Linked DNA regions of Homo sapiens: region 1 is linked to region 2. Evidence: promoter capture Hi-C in 16 types of primary human blood cells and fetal thymus (Javierre and others, 2016). All regions are on one chromosome and are shown on one strand. The core of a region is centred on a gene start or on the middle of the fragment in contact, and the rest is flanking DNA. Distances in the headings are between cores, read along the strand shown.

Region 1 (6,955 bases), core at 3,796-6,295, 340 kb after region 2:
ATTTTTGTGTTTTTGGTAGAGACGGGGGTTTCACCATGTTGGCCAGGCTGGTCTCGAGCTACTGACCTCAGGGGATTCTCCCGTCTTGGCCCCCCAAAGTACTGGGATTACAGGCTTGAGCCACTGCGCCCAGCAGAATGAGGGTTTCTTTTAAGGCAATAATAGAAGCATCCTGCTCCTGTAATCAAACCTTGAGCTTGGCATTTAAAGTCCTGAGCTCATCATTTTCTTCCTCCACATGTTTGAGTACACTTAGAAGCAATCAACGAACACTCCTTTGCTCTCTATTTCCATTAAAATGTTCAGTGGGGGCAACTACTTGGCCAGCCAAAGACTTGCCTTTAAAGACGTTTGTATTACAGGTGACTACAGGTGATAATTCATGTACCTCTCTTGCCACTGCATGCCATGATTTACCAGTGTCACCTATACCAATGGTAATAGGATCATTAATGCCTTTCAATCTAACCAGATCAGTTCGAAATTTTTATCCCTAATGTTCTATTCCTCTGGAGCCATTTCCAATACCTACTTGATGTTTATGATTGATACTAATGGTATCGGTCAGGGTTCCATCAGGGAAGGAGAAACACTAAGAGTGTTGTGTAATAAGAGATTTATTATGGGAGGGTGGCTTTACAGAATTGCTGGAGAAACTGGGAGAGTAAAGGTTTGAATGAAGAAGTTGGAGGACCAGAGAAAAGCCACTAATCAAACTTTCTGGACTCAGGAATGCCAGCTGCTGGAGCAGGATCCTAGAGAGGAGAAGTTTATGAAAGTCTATTGCCTCTGTATCTGGGGTTGGTCTGGGCTTTTCAGTTTTTGTTGGTCGGAAGGGCCAGGAGTTGCCAAGTAAGGCTAAATGTGGAGTGGGTGAGAATAAGTATAACCTGGAACCTGCTGACACTTCTAACCTATGACAGCCTTCAGAAAGTAATTGTGGCAGCTGCTTCGCTTCTCTGCCTTACAAATCATTCACAAATTAATCTTTTGGCCAACTCTAAACCAGAACCACGCAGGGGATGGGATTCTGGGAAATGTAGCTCCAGCTTACCCAAACTGACACAATACAAAACTACCACATGCCATTTACTTAGCTGCTTGATATTGAATGAATTATTTGATGTCTATGAGTCTCTCTAAGTCTCTTTCCATCTCAGAGTCTGGGCATTATCTTGTGTGAGAGGATACTTTCCTGGATTTCTGGAAGATGCCCTATTGCTGGGGATCCCCTGTTTACAAATCCCTTGATGTGGGTGATGTCTCCTTCCACTGGCCACTTATGACTCCCTCTCAGACTCCTGGCTTCGGTAATCCCTCCCTAGCTGGGTTCACCTCTCTCTTCCAGGCAGCCCTCTTGGGCAGTCCACTTTTGGCCTGTGGAAAACATGCAAACATCGCGCTCTGCTGAGCTCTTGGGGGCAGCTCACTCTCAAGGTGGTCCTCTGGACTCTCTCCAGAGCAACCAGCCAGCCATAGCCACTCGCCTTCAGATTATTTTCAGGTCTGAGTTCCTGGGTCCCATACGCTCCAATGGATTCAAGTCAAGCTCTTGGAGTTCTTCTCTGGAACCCCCTCTGAAGTGGCTTACAGTAAGAAAGAATCACACCATTGGCCAGGGTGGAAGAAAGTGACAACTCTCTCCAGTCAGATCTTCACTACCGCCTGCTTTTCAACCTTAGTTCTTAGCCCTTTCTCATGCAGTCTGGAGGTGGGTAACAGCTATTCATCACCCCTTTTGCAAGTCTAGCATTTTGATTTAGAATGTGGGAGGAGTTTAGTATAGTTGATAGTCAATTTTATTTTACCTGATCTTTAGGGCCTCTGTCCGAATTTTGAGATGGGAAGAGTCCCATTTAATATATGTTTGACACATGGTAGAGTTTCACTAATAGAAGCTACGGTGTATCGCCAATCACCCAGCCTTGTGGTCAATCTAGCCTTTTAAAAATGGCTGGAATCCACTTCCTCTAGACCAGACTGAAGGGGAGTTTGTACCCTCATGTATGGTTTGAAAGGTAGTTGCTTGGTCCTCCTTATGCCCAGTCTACATATCTATTTTAAATAGAGTGTTTAGAGCCATATGAGCCCAGTAGCTGCTGTGCCCATGCACATGCCTAGACTCACGCTTGATGACAAATCACAAGTCCCAGGAAATCAGAAACCATCTTAGCTGCTCACATTGTGGGGAAGAGGGAAGTGAGCCTTCCTCTGTTCTGGAGTCCATCTCAGCCATAGCAGGAGGAGTGGGAATGTGCAGTTGTGTGCTGGGTTGTGTGCTGCCAGTGTGCCCTGGGCTGGCACCTGTCTTGATGAGTCAGTCTCTGTGCTAAACTGGTTTTTATGTATTGTGAATATTGTCCTTGCTTGTAGGCATGGAGATACTCAAATCCACAGACACACAGAAACACCAGCAGCAAGTCCGGTCTCAGTGGCTCACGCCTGTAATCCCAGCACTTTGGGAGGCCTAGACGGGCGGATCACGAGGTCAGGAGATCGAGACCATCCTGGCTAACACGGTGAAACCCCGTCTCTACTAAAAATACAAAAAAAAAATTAGCCGGGCGCGGTGGTGGGCGCCTGTAGTCCCAGCTACTCGGGAGGCTGAGGCAGGAGAATGGCATGAACCCAGGAGGCGGAGCTTGCAGTGAGCTGAGATAGCGCCACTGCACTCCAGCCTGGGCAATAGAGCGAGACTCCGTCTCAAAAAAAAAAAAAGAAACACCAGCAGCATACATGCACACACAATTACATCTTCACACATGGGTGCACATGCAGTTATTTTCCTTAAGCTTAAAAGCAGAAGTTACATGAACCTGGAAAATATGAACTGAACTGATCTAGGGTGTGACAGCATATTAGGGAAGCATCTGTCCTGAAGTCTTTCTCTTGGCTTCTTAGTCTTTACGTCTTCATTTCTTTGCTTGTTAGATATCACAGGTGGCACTGGAAGGGATTAAAGCAGGCAGAGGCACAGCCTCAAATATATATATGTATATATATCCCTAAACTCAGGAAAACAATGCAGAGTCATCATTTCCAGATTGCAAAAGTATGTTGAGAAAGATTCAACTAAAACACCAAGGCATCAGTTGGCAAAATTTTTGTACAAAGGCTCAGATAATGGGCTGGGCGTGGTGGCTCATGCCTGTAATCCCAGCACTTTGGGAGGCCAAGGCAGGTGGATCACCTGAGGTCAGGAGTTCGAGACTAGCCTGACCAATATGATGAAACCCCATCTCTACTAAAAATACAAAAATTAGCCAGGTGTGGTAGCGTGTACCTGTAATCCCTGCTACTTGGGAGGCTGAGACAGGAGAATCGCTTGAACCCGGGAGGCGGAGGTTGCAGTGAGCCAAGATTGCACCACTGCACTCCAGCCTGGGCAACAAGAGCAAAACTCTATCTCAAAAACAAAAAACAAAGGATTAGATAAATATTTTAGACTTTGTGATCCATATGGGCTCTTCAAAATGACTCAACTCTGCTGTTTAGTATAAAAATAGTCAGACAGGAAGACACAAATAAGCATAGTTAAGTTCCAATAAAACTTTATTTACAAAAAGGCAGCAGGCCAGATTTAGCCCATGGGCTTTAGTATGCAGCCTGAAGAACCCAGAAGCCATCCAAGTGGCTTCGCTGATCTCTCTAAGGTTAACAGGGGCTCCATTCTGTCTCCTTGAGAAAGGATAAAAATCAATTGTTTTGGATGTGGCATCAGTTCTGTTCTTATTATTTTGTGCTGTGCATTGTGTTCTTCTGAATGAGTGATCTCAATCCCTCTTTTTTGTTCCTCCTGCCCTCCTTCTGTGTATATATCTCTCCATGTTTCCCATTCTTCATTCTGTTCCCTTGCACTCGCAAGGTTGATTGACTTTAGAATGGGACACTTTCACATTCATCCTTGTTAAAATCCCAGCTTCTTTTCAGGTTCCTCATCTAAACTTGATGTGTAGTAGTAGAAAGAACACCGTCTGGATCACTGGACAGGACACATCAACAGCTTGCTATGTGACAAATCACCTAGCCTCTCTGAGCCTCCCTTTTCTGTCAAATGAGGGAGTTGGCTAACTGGTCTCTAAAATCCCTTGCAAGCTGGGTGTGGTGCCTCACACCTGTAATCGCAGCACTTTGGGAGGCTGAGGCAGGAGGATTGCTCGAGGCCGGACGTTCAAGACAAGACCAGTCTGGGCAACATAGGAAGACCCTGTCTCTATTCTACAAAAAAAAAAAAAAGGATGTGGCAGCACATGCCATTAGTGCCAGCTACTCAGGAAGCTGAGGTGAGAGGATTGCTTGAGCCCAAGAGGCCAAGGCTGCAGTAAGCCATGATTATGCCACTGTACTCCAGCCTGGGCAACAGAGGGAGACACTGTCTCAAAAAAAAAAAAAAAAAAAAAAAAAAAAAAAAAAAAGAAAGAAAGAAAACATTAAAATCCCTTCTAGCTGTAAGCTTGTGATTTTAGGAAGTTGCAGCCTCAATCCAGGCAACTGTCTGGGGACCGTTAATTAGGATGTCACTCATAGGCCTCAATGAAACTGCTAGGATGCCAACAGAAGTTAGCCACATGATCTCCTGTGGTTGGTAACCTTCCTAAGGCCTTCACAGCTGAGGACAGTGTGGGTACCAGCTAACTTCAGGGACTGAGATTCCAATCCAGTAAGGGGAGAAGAGGAAGATAAATGACTCCAGGAACCCTATGTTCCAGGAAAATTAATTTGCATTTTTAAACTGTAGCTAAAAAACGCACATAAATATTGATTCAGTTGGAAACAGGACCCTAGGATGCTATTGTGGGGGAGGTGGGACACTTTCCCTTCTCCATCAGACCCTCCTATGTAGGGGTCTTCTGGCTATATAAAAGATACCCCTCAAGGCCCACCAAAAAAATATATGAAAAGGTAAGGAGGAAATGAAGGCTTGAGGAGTTAAAAAAAATGAATTAGGAGTTAGCAAATTCCAGCATGTGTCAAAGGAAAGAGGTCTTCTCTGTAGCAGGGGTGAGGGAGGTCAGGGAAGGTTGCAGAACCCAGACTTTGGCTGAGGCAGAGGCTGGCAGTGGTTGGCAACTCAGGAGAGAGTTTGTATAGCATGATCCCTGCTCTCAGGCTCAATCCCCAGCTCAGAGCCCACCAGCTTGTGGATGCAGCAGATGGGCAGGGGGCTCGAGCCCTCTCCCTCCTTCCTGGACACAGTCTTGAGGGTGCAGAATGACTGGAGAAAAGCCCCTATTCTGGCCTCCAGGAGAACAGGCTGTTATTGTCTGACTCTGCTAAAGCTGTCTCATTTGTAGCCTAAATAATTCACTCACCAATCTCTCAAGAAGCATTAGGAGAAAAACAAAACCTGACCCAGCCCTCATGCTCAGGTTCCCATTGCACAGAAGTCAGGCAAGGAGGCTGGGAGGCAGTCCCACACTGCAGAGATGGCCTGCCTTCAAAGGTTCATCAGATTGGCATCCTTCTGAAACAGACCCAGATTCTGTTTCTATACAGCTAAGACTTGAGCTATTAATAAGACTAGCTTTTGTATATTAAAGATATTTTAAAACAAAATGAAACAAACAAACAAACAAAAAATCAACAATAAAAACAAAGAGTATGCAACAGAGACTGTATGTGAGCTGCCAAGCTTGAAATATTTACTATCTGGCCTTTTCCAGAAAATGTTTGCCAATCCCTTAATCCATCCCCACCCTCCATCCTCCAACCTTAAAGGAGGTAATGACGATCTTCTTCTTTTTTTTTTTCTGTCTAGCCACTATTTTATTTTATTTATTTATTTATTTATTTTAGTATTTATTGATCATTCTTGGGTGTTTCTCGGAGAGGGGGATGTGGCAGGGTCATAGGAAAATAGTGGAGAGAAGGTCAGCAGATAAACATGTGAACAAAGGTCTCTGGTTTTCCTAGGCAGAGGTCCCTGCGGCTTTCCTTCTGCAGTGTTTGTGTCCCTGGGTACTTAAGATTAGGGAGTTGTGATGACTCTTAAAAGAGCATGCTGCCTTCAAGCATCTGTTTAACAAAGCACATCTTGCACCGCCCTTAATCCATTTAACCCTGAGTTGACACAGCACATGTTTCAGAGAGCACAGGGTTGGGGGTAAGGTTATAGATTAACAGCATCCCAAGGCAGAAGAATTTTACTTAGTACAGAACAAAATGGAGTCTCCTATGTCTACTTCTTTCTACACAGACACAGTAACAATCTGACCTCTCTTTCTTTTCCCAACATTTCCCCCTTTTCTTTTCGACAAAACCGCCATCGTCATCATGGCCTGTTCTCGATGGTCACTGTCTCTTCGGAGCTGTTGGGTACACCTGCAGAAAGGCTGTCACTTCACACTTGGAAGATTGCACAGCGGCCAGGCAGAGGCGCTCCTCACTTCCTAGACGGGGCGGCGGCCGGGCAGAGGCGCTCCTCACTTCCCAGATGGGGTGGCGGCCAGGCAGAGGCTGTAATCTTAGCACTTTGGGAGGCCAAGCCAGGCGGCTGGGAGGTGAAGGTTGTAGCGAGCCGAGATCACGCCACTGCACTCCAGCCTGGGCAACATTGAGCACTGAGTGAGCGAGACTCCGTCTGCAATCCCAGCACCTCGGGAGGCCAAGGCGGGCAGATCACTCGAGGTCAGGAGCTGGAGACTAGCCCAGTCAACACGGCGAAACCCCGTCTCCACCAAAAATACAAAAACCAGTCAGGTGTGGCGGCGCGTGCCTGCAATCCCAGGCACTCGGCAGGCCAATCACGGGAGTCCGAGGCAGGGAGGTTGCAGCGAGCTGAGATCATGGCAGGAGAGGGAAGAGGGAAGAGGGAAGAGGGGAGAGGGGAGAGGGGAGAGGGGAGAGGGGAGAGGGGAGAGGGGAGAGGGGACGATCTTTGACCAACTCCCTACCTACCCCACCCCATGAGCCCACCATCGGCAGAGATTCTGAGTTGTGAGTTCTGATATTTACA
Region 2 (6,227 bases), core at 2,727-5,226:
AACTCCATCTCAAAAAAAAAAAGAAAAAAAATTTAACAGTCTACAGTGAAATAAAACAGTAAGGAAAAGGTTACTTTTATTTCATAAAGCTAAATCTATATAATCTATAGAAGCGTCCTTAACCCTAAAAATACATACTTCTTAATGTTTTGGTACTATCATGAAATGACCAAGACAACACATCATTGGGGGAAAGGGGTTCTAACAAAGTTACTTTGCAAAATAAGAAGTTGAGTCATAAACCTAGTCTTTCAATGCTGTGTATGTGTGTGTAATCAGAATAATGTGAAACAGAGCTCTATACCCACAGAGAACCCAGTCAAGCTCTGAATGATCAAATAATATTCTAGAGAGTTTCTCATACAGAGAAGCATAAAGACAGTATCTGAGTATGTTTCCAAAAATCAGTATTAATGAATTTTGTCCATAATCATTTTGATGGTCACAAGTTTGAGCATATATTTGAATCCCTAATATATTTAAAGCATTACATGTATTTCAACATTCAAAATTACATAAAGAAACCCAAATGTACTGGGTGGTTTTATAGCTAAAGGCAACTGCTGAAGAATGTTTCATTTCTCAATTTAAAATAGTACGGTACTATCTTTTAATATTCTAAGAGTTCTACCAATGTAAGACTTCCATCCAATTACATTTCTACAACTGAATTGTTCTCTAAGTCATTTCACTTCAACTGAAAATGTCATTTCATTATAGGACATTAAAAATTCTGAATGTCACTTGGCTCTAGGCAATTGGTCTTGATTAAACAAAAATCAAACCTTAACACAAAAATATATCTTACATAAAATTACTTCTAAATGTTTACCAACCAACGGAGAATCTTAAATGTAGGCCCGGCTGTGGCCAAGCGCAGTGGCTCGTGCCTGTAATCCTAGCACTTTGGGAGGCCAAGGTGGGCAGATCACCTGAGGTCAGGAGTTCAAGACCAGCCTGGCCAACATGGTGAAACCCCGTCTCTACTGAAAATACAAAAATTAGGTGGGCATACTGGCTCAAGTCTGTAATCCCAGCTACCTGGGAGTCTGAGGCAGGAGAATCACTGGAACCCAGGAGGCAGAGGCTGCACTGAGCCGAGATCGTGCCACTGCACTCCAGCCTGGGTGACAGAGCAAGACTCTCTCTTAAATAAAAAAAAAAAAAAAGTAGGCCAGGCCGGGCTTGGTGGCTCATGCTTGTAACCCCAGCACTTTGGGAGGCTGAGGTGGGTGGATCACCTGACATCAGGAGTTTAAGACCAGACTGGCCAACATGGTGAAACCCCACCTCTACTAAAAATATGAAAAATTAGCCAGGCATGGTAGCGCACGCCTGTAATCCCAGCTACTTGGGAGGCTGAGGCAGGAGAATCGCTTGAACCTGGGAAGCAGAGGTTGCAGGGAGCCGAGGTCACACCATTGCACTCCAGCCTGGGCAACAAGAGCGCGACTCCATCTCAAAAAAAAAAAAAAAAAAAAGTATAGGCCACATTCATTCCAATTACAGCTAAATGAAGCTGTTTTGTCAAATCTGTGCCAGACTTATTGTTATAATCAGGTAGCTCTTCCAAGAATGTCTTAGAAAAAGGCACTTGCTGCATAACAAAGAGGCTGTGCTAGGTTTAACTGACACTACACTGCACACTGATAGGAGTTTTTAAATTTGGGTCAATAAAACCAGAAGTGACTACAGGTGTCACTACCATGAAAGAGAAAGCATCTTACTACACTGCAGTTCTATGTTTACTAAAAGATTTGATTATTTATGTTAATTTTTTCAATGACTACATGAGGTAGCTTTCTTTCCTATCTGTGCTAACCTATTTGCAAATATATAAATACTTCTTAAACTCCGCAACACCTCTTATTTGTATTCTATTTCCAATAAAAATCCAAGCAGCCTCTCATATTTTAATTGCACTTCAACCTATTTTTTTAGTGATGACTCTTTTTTTTTTTGAGACAGAGTTTCACTCTTGTTGCCCAGGCTGGAGTGCAATGGCACGATCTCGGCTCACTCCAACCTCGCCCTCCCGGGTTCAAGTGATTCTCCTGCCTCAGGGTGTAGCTAGTATTACAGGCACGCGCCACCACACCCAGCTAACTTTGCATTTTTAGTAGAGATGGGGTTTCTCCATGTTGGTCAGGTTGGTCTCGAACTCCCAACCTTAGGTGATCAGCCCGCCTCAGCCTCCCAGAGTGCTGGGATTACAAGCGTGAGCCACCGCACCCGGCCCCTCTTCCTCCCCGACCCTCCCTCCCCCCAGACGGAGTCTCGCTCTGTTTTCAGGCTGGAGTGCAGTGGCGTGATCTCAGCTCACTGCAACCTCCACCTCCCGGGTTCAAGCGATTCTCCTGCCTCAGCCTCCCGAGTAGCTGGGACTACAGGCGCACACCACCACACCCAGCTAATTTTTTTGTATTTTTAGTAGAGACGGGGTTTCACCATGTTGGCCAGGATGGTCTCGATCTCTTGACCTCGTGATCGGCCCGCCTCGGCCTCCCAAAGTGCTGGGATTACAGGCGTGAGCCACCGCGCCTGGCCCATTGATGACTCTTTCTTAACGACTCCATCAGAAATCTGTCAGTTAATAAACGTGCTGCTCAGTTAGTGACGAGAAATAACTGTATGTTAGTGGTTAAGAAGCCCCATAATTGCAGCATTTAATACCTGCTGTTGTTCCTAATACCACCAGGCTGACTCAGACTAAGGAGCCCTCCAAGTTCCACTGTCTAATAAAGACCTGTCAAAGTGAAAACTCAACAGTGGAAACTCCAGAATTCATTCAACCGTTGTACCTGCTTTACCTACATAAATAAGCAGAACTGATTTTTGGGTTCTTTGCCACAAGAAGATGCGCTGAAAACAAAGCATCAAATGGTTCTGCAAAAAATACTCCTCCTCTTTACAGTGAAGTTTAAATTAGATCAAGAATGCTACTTACAAAGATATTCTGAATTACAGGATCTCCTGATTCATCATAATGAACTTTTCAACCCTGTTAAGTATCAAAACTGCAGCACAAAATCAGCCAACATGCGAACTAAGGACTAAAGACAGTTCATAGGTCTTTGGCGATTGTGATTATAAAATCACGTGCCTGAGGACCACTAAGTCTGAGGTACACACCAAATCATGCAGCTCAAGATAAGCAGAAAGCACTGTTCCGTGCTCAACCCACCCCCCGCCCCACCAACCATCCAAAGTCAATGCTGGTGCCCAGGACCCGTGAGTCCTTACCATTAAATATGCCCGCCCCATTTCCTCCCCAGTTGAGGAAATCACAGACTCCTTGGCCCCAAGAATCTTAACCCTCGTCTTCATACAATTCTCCAGAAACCTTAACACCGGCTTTTTTAGGCTCCCACCACCTAAAACAAAGTTCATAAAATCCTGACGGCAGTTTCCTTCAGAGCTTAGGCTCTCGACCACACCCTCCGACCAGGCCTGTCTCCCTCCTGCCTGCCCCCTGTAGAGGGAAGGCTCCCCCTCCTTTTGGTCACTCTGCCTGGCCGCTCTACTCACAGGATAGCGGTGTCGGGGGGCAGCAAGCCCGACAGCGCCCTCCAGCTCGGTGCGGGCAATTTCCTGCGACTGCAGTCCAGGAGAGGAATGCGGCAGGAGCAGGGCGCGGGGCAGAGACCTGCTCCGGCGGCGGGCAACAGGAGGAGAGCGGTCTGGGCAATGAAGAGTAACCGAGAAAGCACTCTAGATCGACACCCCAGCAACTGCTCCTCCGGGACGCCTAGGGGCGCCGGCGCCATTTTCCCCCTCGACCTGGACGTGGCCTAGAAGAGCTGCCTGCTAGAAAAGGAGGATCGGCGGAGAAGCTCAGCAGAGATGCTCGGTGGCTGCACTGTCTCCCGAAGCCCCGGCTGAAGGCTGTACCATCTAAAGGCATGCAAGGAGCAGACGCAGCGCGACAGCGGGGTCGACGGCCTGGGACACACGGCCTGACGGACACCTCTCGTCCGCCCCTCCCCACGGCGCAACGTCCTCACGCACAGGGGCCAGCCAATCGGTGCCATAAGATGAGGTTGCGCCCGGGGCGGAACTCAGTGAGGGGCGGGGCCAGACGCAGCCGAGTATCTTGAGGAGAAGGACTTTAAAGCGTTCAGGGATTTTAGCTGCCGCTGTGGAGTTCCGCCGCTGTTCTTCCGCTGGAGGGCGCAGTAGTTCCTTAAGAGGGAATGGTGCGGCGAATAGCTGTGAGTTCAAAGTCCTGACTACAGGTATATCTACTGTAGTAGAAAAGGATCTTTTATTTGCTCTGGGCTTTAAGAAAGGGGAGTGGCAGAAGGGCTGCCTTCCAAGTCGCACACACGAATGGGTCACGGGAGCTTCTATCCTGGCTTTGGCCAGATCGGCCTCCAGAGCCGAGCTCGAGCCTCTTCTGCCCCCTGCTGCTTGGCTGTAGCCCCTGCTCTTCTGCAAGTAGGCGGCAACTGCCATTTGCATAAGATCAATATCACTCTCTGTTAATGGCCTTGTAAGCTCCTGAAGGCAGAGGCCCTGTTTCTTCATCGGTGCACCTCCACCTTTTGTTCTAGCTTGGAGTTCAATAAATTTTGGTGGGACTGCACCTGCATGTCTATATAAAGGAAATACCCTTCTCTTTGGAGGGATGCTGTCAAGGTCACTCTCAGAAAAGCAAGCGAGACAAGAGGGTGTTGAGCAGTCAACAAAGCAAAGACTGGATGTGAGGAAATTTATTTCTCCTAAAGCAGAGGCTATGGAAAACTTACTAGGAACAGTGAAGTCTGGCCATCTTATGCTCATTCAGCCATCCAAGGTTGTAAATAAGACTTTGAGAATAATAGTGATGGTTCACTTATACGTAGTGAACTTTTCAAAGGGCGTTTGCATCTGTTATCTTGTTTGCTCCTTCAGTGACTGTGACATTGGCAAGACAATTATTGCTGATGATGCAACAAGCCCCAAGAGGTTAAACCAAGTTACTCTTGAGGCAGGGGCAGGTTCGACATTAACATGGGTTTTCTGACATAAATTGAAAATCTGAGCAGGTTAAAAAGAATGATAATGCCTAGGTTAGGGTTCTCATAGAAAGTAACTGAAAGCAATCTTTCCCATGGCAGATTATGGAGTCATAATTATGTTTTTAAAAACCTTTTTCTGTTTTTTTTTTTTAATATTGAAGTATATATTGGAAACAAGGCCATATCCAATGCTACAGTCCAAACCAAACTTTTAAAGCCAAGACAGCGGAATGAAACTTACTCTTAGCCTTCTTCCCTTAGCTGTTGAGCAGACTTAACAAACTCTGGTAAGAAATCCGGCATAGGCAGGAACCTTACAAAAAAAAAAAGGAGGCAGTTTAGTTCCTTTCTACATTATAGTTTCAGAGCTTTCCTATGAAACTATACCAAATGGGGCCATTAGAAATTAATGCTCTCTAACCTGTATCCTCCGCAGTAAGTGGCTCACTGCAATCTCTGCCTGCCGTATTCAAGCGATTCTCCTGCCTCAGCCTGCCTAGTAGCTGGGACTACAGGTGTGCACCACCATGCCCGGCTAATTTTTGTATTTTTAGTAGAGACGGGGTTTTGCCTTTTTGGCCAGGCTGGTCTCGAACTCCTGACCTCAGGTGATCCACCCACCTCGGGCTCTCAAAGTGCTGGGATTACAGGCATGAGCCACTGTGACTGGCCACAAATACACGTTTTTTTTGTTTTTTTTGTTTTTTTTGTTTTTTTTTTGAGACAAAATTTCATTATTGTTGCCCAGGCTGGAGTGCAATGGCACAATCTCGGCTCACCGCAACCTCCGCCTCCTGGATTCAAGCGATTCTCCTGCCTCAGCCTCCTGAGTAGCTGGGATTACAGTCATGCGCCACCACGCCCAGCTAATTTTGTAGTTTTAGTAGAGATGGGGTTTCTCCATGTTGGTCAGGCTGGTCTCGAACTCCCAACCTTAGGTGATCCGCCCGCCTCGGCCTCCCAGAGTGCTGGGATTTCAAGCATGAGCCACCACACCCAGCCGCAAATATGTGTTTTTTTTTTTTTTTTTTAATTTATTTTTTTATTGATAATTCTTGGGTGTTTCTCACAGAGGGGGATTTGGCAGGGTCATGGGACAATAGTGGAGGGAAGGTCAGCAGATAAACAAGTGAACAAAGGTCTCTGGTTTTCCTAGGCAGAGGACCCTGCGGCCTTCCGCAGTGTTTGTGTCCCTGGGTACTTGAGATTAGGGAGTGGTGATGACTC

Evidence for each region. Contacts are between HindIII fragments. The CHiCAGO score rates a contact against its expected background, and 5 or more counts as called.
Region 1: a contact is called between a fragment that was not itself captured here and the fragment with the promoter of LRIG2 in region 2, in 2 of 17 cell types (activated CD4 T cells and neutrophils). The highest score is 5.5, in activated CD4 T cells.

Annotation. Positions count from the first base shown.
Region 1 is chr1:112,728,249-112,735,203 of GRCh38, reverse strand. No RefSeq gene overlaps it. Among named protein-coding and RNA genes, the nearest start is that of TAFA3, 13 kb to the right of the region's middle. The HindIII fragment of the contact is 1,179 bases long and covers 4,456-5,634 here.
Region 2 is chr1:113,070,947-113,077,173 of GRCh38, reverse strand. LRIG2 (leucine rich repeats and immunoglobulin like domains 2) reads right to left here and starts at 3,976. Exons shown (of 18, transcript NM_014813.3): 1 at 3,529-3,976. The coding sequence starts at 3,767. LRIG2-DT (LRIG2 divergent transcript) reads left to right here and starts at 4,072. Exons shown (of 3, transcript NR_103777.1): 1 at 4,072-4,235. RefSeq lists enhancers at 2,807-2,856, 3,456-3,515, 3,132-3,663, 3,696-4,005, 3,664-4,197 and 1 more. The HindIII fragment of the contact is 20,110 bases long and covers 1-6,227 here.